Linked DNA regions of Homo sapiens: region 2 is linked to region 1. The links are contacts of gene promoters, found by promoter capture Hi-C in blood cells and fetal thymus (Javierre and others, 2016). All regions are on one chromosome and are shown on one strand. Each heading gives the region's core, a stretch centred on a gene start or on the middle of the fragment in contact. The rest is flanking DNA. Distances are from core to core; before and after follow the strand shown. Region 1 holds the start of KCNC2 (potassium voltage-gated channel subfamily C member 2). Region 2 has its middle 160 kb from the start of ATXN7L3B.

The links. Contacts are between HindIII fragments. The CHiCAGO score rates a contact against its expected background, and 5 or more counts as called.
Region 2: a contact is called between a fragment that was not itself captured here and the fragment with the promoter of KCNC2 in region 1, in 1 of 17 cell types (endothelial precursors). The highest score is 5.1, in endothelial precursors.

What each region holds. Positions count from the first base shown.
Region 1 is chr12:75,208,141-75,211,568 of GRCh38, reverse strand. KCNC2 (potassium voltage-gated channel subfamily C member 2) reads left to right here and starts at 1,730. Exons shown (of 5, transcript NM_139137.4): 1 at 1,730-2,362. The HindIII fragment of the contact is 8,191 bases long and covers 1-3,428 here.
Region 2 is chr12:74,691,515-74,694,942 of GRCh38, reverse strand. No RefSeq gene overlaps it. Among named protein-coding and RNA genes, the nearest start is that of ATXN7L3B, 160 kb to the right of the region's middle. The HindIII fragment of the contact is 862 bases long and covers 1,206-2,067 here.

The DNA of each region.
Region 1 (3,428 bases), core at 481-2,980:
AGGGGGTAATTTATGTGAAGCATTTTTAACATAGTAGGATCTCAGTAAATACCTATTATTATAAATGCTTCTGTTGCTATTACAGTTGTTAATTTATTCTAAAGCAAACCACATTCCCCCTTTTACCTACTGAATTTACATTAAGCAATATATGATACCATCTAGACAATGGAAGAATGACTGTTAGAAGGTGAATATACTTTTTCTTTGTAATTTTTCTGGCAATTGAAATTTATTATCATTATTATTTTTGGAAATACCTCAGTGATTGATAATTGTACAAAATTAAAATAATTTTCTTCACATTAAAGCCTTATACATTTTTGTGTGTGTTAGTAACTCACATGCTGGGTACACATTGTCTTTACACATTTACTGTAAAATTGTCAGTAATTTAAAAAATAAATGTATATATTACATCTTTTGCATTTATTTTCTAGACATCAATGACCTTCCAAAGACCTTTTGGTTCTCTACTTTGTTAACCTATTTAATGTGTCATAACAGATAGACGTTTATTTGGTGAATTCACATTTTACTACCTGTCTTATCACTCTCTATATTGCTAAAATTTTCTTATTAATAACTCACAAATCTTGCTTTTTCTAAGCCATAGTATCATATCAATACCTGTTTATCAAAGAAATCTTCTTCCACAGAGGACCTGGTGTTTTCCTTACTGGGTGGACTTCAATTCTAACAAACTATGCCTGTAGAATAGTGTCTGCCTTCCTTCTTTTTCTTTCTTTCTTTCTTTCTTTCTTTCTTTCTTTCTTTCTTTCTTTCTTTCTTCTTTCTTTCTTTCTTTCATGGAATATGCACACAGATACACACATGTGCACGCACACACACACACACACACACGATCTGTTTGGTGATGAGGCCTGTTATAGGTTGAATAGTGCCCCTTCCCCTCATAAAAATTGTATTGGAGTCCTAACTTTCAGTACTTCAGAATGTAACCTTGTATGGAGATAGAATCTTTATAGAGATAGTGAAGTTGAAATGGGGTCATTTATGGCGGGCCCCAATCTAATATAACTGATATCCTTATAAAAAGAGGATGTTTGGACACAGAGACAGATATGCATGGAGAGAAAATAGTCAGAAGAGGCACAGGGAGAAGATGCCCATCTACAAGCCAAGGAGAGAGGACTGGAACATATTCTTCCTCCACAACCCTCAGAAGAAGCCAACCCTAACAACACCTTAATTTTGTATTTGAAACTGGCAGAACCATGAGACAATACATTTCTGCTGTTAAGCCACCCAGTTTGTCATACTTTCTTATGGCAGCCCTAGCAAACTAATACAAGGGGCAATGAAAACTTGAGAAAGGGTGAAATTGGCTTATTAAAAAATTACTTGGATACTTGGGTATCTGTGGATTTTCTCTTCAGCTTCAGACAAAAAGAAACCCTGGAGCTTGTACTTTGTAAAGCACTATCTTCCTGGGATAAACTTCTAAAACTTGTTTTGCTTTAGATAACCGTGGTGTGGTGGCTGGAGACTGACATTTGATTTGAAAAAGCAAGCCAGAGCTATGCATAAGACATAAAAAACAATATTTACTGTCACCTGTTAGTAGACCTCTCTCTCCGGCCAACTGTCATTGAGAAAAAAAAAATGCAATTGGTTTTAGATTCTCTCACTTGTTGGGAGGGGTGGGGCATAGCGAGGGGTGGGGGGAGAGAGAGGGTGTGGAGAGTGGGGTGTAAATAAGGCAGGCAGAAGCTCCAGAGAGGGTGGAGACAGAGCTTCACGGAAGAAAAATATGTGAACCTGGTTGGTACACATAGCTTCTCCAGACCCACCCACCCACTCTTTCCTGAGCCCTGTGCTTCGGATGGCGGCGGGAGGTTGATGGCGAGTGGTGCTGAAGGGACAGCTCCAGCAGTGGCTGATTTGGGGGAGAAACAAAATCTGCAGATGGAATCCGAGCAGGGCGACTTCACCTTCAAGTGGTGAGCTCTCCTGACCTGCGGCCAGTCTCCACTCCATTCACGGCCAGCCGATCTGCCCGCTCCCGGAGGGGTCGGGCAGTGCCGGCTGGACCCGCCCCGAGCTCCATGGTTTGCCCAACCCTGCGCGATGGTGACTCTGGGCGCGGAGGTTGGCGACTGGCAAATCCGCAGATCACAGAATGAAGGCGGGGAGCGCGGCCGGCGGCCGGCGGGGGCTTTCTCCCCCACCCCAGCGCCCAGGGAAGCGGCTCAACCACCTGAATCCGGAAAACGCCAACAAGTAGTTTCTCGTCGGAGAAGGGCGGCTCACCTGGGCGCCAAGACTCAGTCCCGCTGCCCAGAGAACCTCGTCCACTCGGAAACCAAAGCAGAACCACTTTTCTCTCGGTCTCGTTAAGGTATCTGGAAATGGGGGCGGGGGTGGTGAAAGGGGCGATTTCCTGGAAAGGGCATGTTGACCCTGCAGGCCAGCATCCCCCCGCTCCGCCTTTCCGCAATAGGAATGTAGAGATGAAGCCCTGGGGAGAGGTGGCTGGGAGGCTGGAAACAGGGACACTGTCAGCGAGACTTTCAGCTCAGGGACCCAGGGGGTGTGCCTCCAAGCAGCTTTTCCCCGAGCCTCGCCCCTCCTAGAAAGCAAATCCCCCACCCTCCACCCACTAAGGGATTTGTTTTTCTTGGGAAGGGGGATGGGTGGGATGCATTGATCACTTCTATTCTTAAAGATGGATCTTAGTTAGTTGTTTCCTTTCCCAAGTAATAATAATATCAACAACAATAATAATAATAACGTGAAAAGGAAATCGAATGAGGAAATAAGTCAGAGGTCTCCTAGGTGAAAAGCAACAGCAGAGATTTTTTTTTTCTCTGACTTCTGTGTTGTCTTTTTGCTTGGTCTGTGAGCAGGTGTAGAGGTGATCCTAGAACAGGTTGCTCAGAAGGCACTCCCTGAGCGCTAGGGAGTAGAGAGGGGTCCGGGGTTGACCTAGGGTGGGTGTGGAATCCGGGCTCTTCACAGGGTGGGGGGAGGGTGTGCTCTCACCCAACACTGCCAAGTTGCCTGAGGAAAACTCCCTGCCTAAGAGAATTGCATCCAAGCTAGGGGAAGGGGAGAAAGAGGAGGGTCTTGGAGAGTGGGAATGAGAGGCCAACCAGGGGAGGAGGAGAGAATGGGGCAAAGGAGGGGGAGAAAGTAGGTTTAGAGGGAGAGAGAGTGTGTTTGGGGAGGCAGAGAGGGGGTTAGGGGCTGGGAGCAGGTTGGACTTGAGTGGGAACAGAAAAGAGGAAGAGTGGAAGGTGAAAAGATGAAGGTGAAGAGATCAGAGCCAAAAGAAAGGAAAGCGGGAGGCAGGGAAAACGGTGTCATGAAAGGTCAAGAAAGACTAGGACTGCTATCTCTGTAGTTCTCTGGAAACCTGGGAAAGGTTTGATGCAAGAGGCGGGGACAGCGCTGGACGCTGATCC
Region 2 (3,428 bases), core at 387-2,886, 520 kb after region 1:
ATGAGAAACTGCACCCAGCCTCATTATGTATTTTTTTAAATCAACAAATAAAAATTATATATATTTATGGTATACGACATGATGTTTTAAAATATGTATTTCATATTCATATTTCAAGTATGTACTTAACCATTGTGGAATGGTTAAATCAAGCTAATTAATATTACCTCACATACTTATAACTTATTGGTGAGAACACTTCACATCTACTCTCTTAGAAATTTTCATCTATACAATACATTGTCATTAACCGTAGCAGCTGTGATGAACATTAGATCTCTTATTTCTCCCTTCTAACTGAAACTGTGTATCTTTGACCATCATATCCCTAATACTAAAAGGGATGAATTTGTTAAACAAGATACAAAAAACAATTAACAAATAAATATGACTAATAAATGTGATTAAATTAAAAATAAATGTCCATTAAGACACAAAGCCATGGCAGTAGAGTTTCTATTTGCAGCACTTCTAAGTGATGAATAATTTATATGCAGAATATTAAGAAATGAAACTGGCAGTAAATAAGTAAAAGAAAAAACATTTTCTTAGAAACATAAATTTATAAGCAGGCATATCACTGGAGTAGACATACTAAAGAAAAAAATACAATTGCAAGACTGTTAAGCTTCACTAGTAATTAAGTATATTCACATTACAATATGGAGGTAACATACTGACTAGATTAAGAATTAAAAACTGGCTGGGTGCGGTGGCGGTGGCGGTGGCTCAGGCTTGTAATCCCAGCGCTTCAGGAGGCCAAGTGGGGCAGATTAGTTGAGGTCAGGAGTTCAAGACCAGCCTGGCCAACATGGAGAAACCCGTCTCTACTAAAAATACAAGAATTAAACGGGTGTGGTGGCACGTGCCTGTAGTCCCAGCTACTCAGAAGGCTGAGGCATGAGAATCTCTTGAACCCAGGAGACAGAGGTTGCAGTGAGCCAAGATCACACCACTGCACTCCAGCCTGGGTGACAGAGCGAGACACTGTCTCGAAAAAAAAAAAAACGAAGGAGAATTAAAAACTTTAAAAATCATAAACATTGGTAAGGATGAAAAACAGTGAAAAACACTTCTGCATTGCATGCAGGACTATAAATTGCTACAGAATCTTGAAATTTCACAACGTCATAATGTTGAAAGTGTTCTTACTCTATAGCTCAGCATTTCTGCTCCAAAATCTCTGCTCCTATCCTATAGAAGCTTCTTTAGCTGGATAATTACCTAGAAAATGTTGTTGCACATATGCATCAGGATGCTTGCATAATAATACTGTGTGTGAGAAAAATCTAGACACAAACTAAAAGTATACCAGCAAGGGAATTGATAAAACACTTGTGGTACATTCATAATATAATACAATAAAATGTTCTATAATAATGAAAATATATCAGCCACAGCTGCATTTATCAATATCCATAAATCTCACAAGCACAATATTCAGCAGAAATATATTATTTGTATAACTTTTAAACACTTGCCAAGCTAACAGTGTAAATAACAATATAAAAAGGATGAAGCAAAACAGAGAAAGGATGTATTAGTCTGTTCTCACACTGCTAATAAAGACACACCCAAGACTGGGTAATTTATAAAGAAAAAGTGGTTTAATGGACTCACAGTTCCACATGGCCGGGGAGACCTCAAAATCATGGCAGAAGGCAAAGGAAGAGCAAAGGTACGTCTTACATGGCAGTAGGCAAGAGACCCTGCGCAGGGTAACTGCCTTTTATAAAACCATCAGATCTCCTGAGACTTTTTCACTATCATGAGAACAACATGGGAAAACCCTTCTTCCGTCATTCAATTACCTCCCACTGGGTTCTTCCCACAACACATGGGGATTATGGGATCTACAATTCAAGATGAAATTTGGGTGGGGACACAGCCAAACCATATCAAAGGACAAACACAAAATTCAGAATAACATTTCCTTCAGTGAAGGAGATATCTTAACTTGGGTGGTAGGTATAATAGCCTTTACAATTTTTTTAAGTCAATTGTCTATGTATATGCTAAAAATGAATTTAGTTTTTCATATTATAGTAAATTAAAATTTTTAAAGCTTCAACATGATCGTCAAATTATAAAAATGGATTTTTTCTTATATACTTGAGTTTTAAACTAAACTCCATATCCCCAACACATCTATTTTGTTGTGCTATTGATGAAAGCTATTGACGAGCTTTCATCAAGTTCATAAAATTATTAGGGTAAACGAAGATTATCTCTTCCCTCCCTTGATGCTCCCCTGCTCGCTTATCCTTGCAGAAGTGTGGATGTTTTCTATTCTCTGGAAAATTTGAAATGGAAAGATTCTCTACTCAGAGGGAGAATCTTGTTGAAAGTGGGATAATTTAATCTGTATACTTAACCATGAAAGTCTGGCTCTGAATACTAAAATAACTGAAGGAATAATTAAGAATTTACTTTTACTCATTTCCTTTTTCCCTCATCCCAACTCCTGATGGTCAGAAGAACTAAAAATTCATTTCAAGCAAAACTGAACAGTGTAAGAACGCACCTACTGATGGAGACCCTTCCTGAACTAGTTCATTCAGATGATCCTATAAGAAAGGCCACTAGCTGACAAGGCTACTCATGCACACAGAGTTTGCAATAGTGCTATTCTTAAATATGAAGGAACAGCCAAGTATTATCAGGCAATTGAAGAGAAATCTCTAACATTATTAAATGAGATAAACATACAAAAAAATAAAAAAAAGAAACTCAAAATAATTAAAAACACAGAAATGTGTGAGAGTGGATGAGGGCATATTGACCTAGGCTTATTTTTTCTAATAATGTTAAATATATATATTCCAGTATTTCTAACACTTTAATTTATTGATTTTTTAAGAAATCAAGACTTTTAACACTTAAAGAGCACTTAATAAATATTATTTATTATTTTAAGTGTTTTTGTTTATCCTATTCATGAAATGTATTATATTAGGGAATATCAATACCTTTATATATAATTTACTTTATATTTTATTTTAGCTTATTTTATAGCTCGTTAGATCCTTCTCATCCAATTATTTTTCACATTTTGAATTGATGTTTGTCTATTAGTCTTTTATGAATACTTATTGCTATTTCATCAGAGTTGTATCTTCTTAATTCATAATGATGCACTTTTTAAAATTTTTCTTTAGTTTCTTACTAAATCATCTAAAGGCCTGCATTTTCTCTAAGTCTTCATGGTGGTGTTTTCTTTTCTGCCTTGATGTAATTTTTCTTAGGCCTATATTGTACTTTTGTTTTTGTATTTGTTCTTAAAATTCACATAGGGCAGAGATTCAGCTAAACTCTATTATCTGCCCTTCGGGTTGCATGATGGTTCTTTATTGCAGTACTGTGTTTTGTTATGGTTTTTGTTTGTTTGTTTTCTCACGGTAGGCTCTTTTCATCTCTTTTTAAGACTT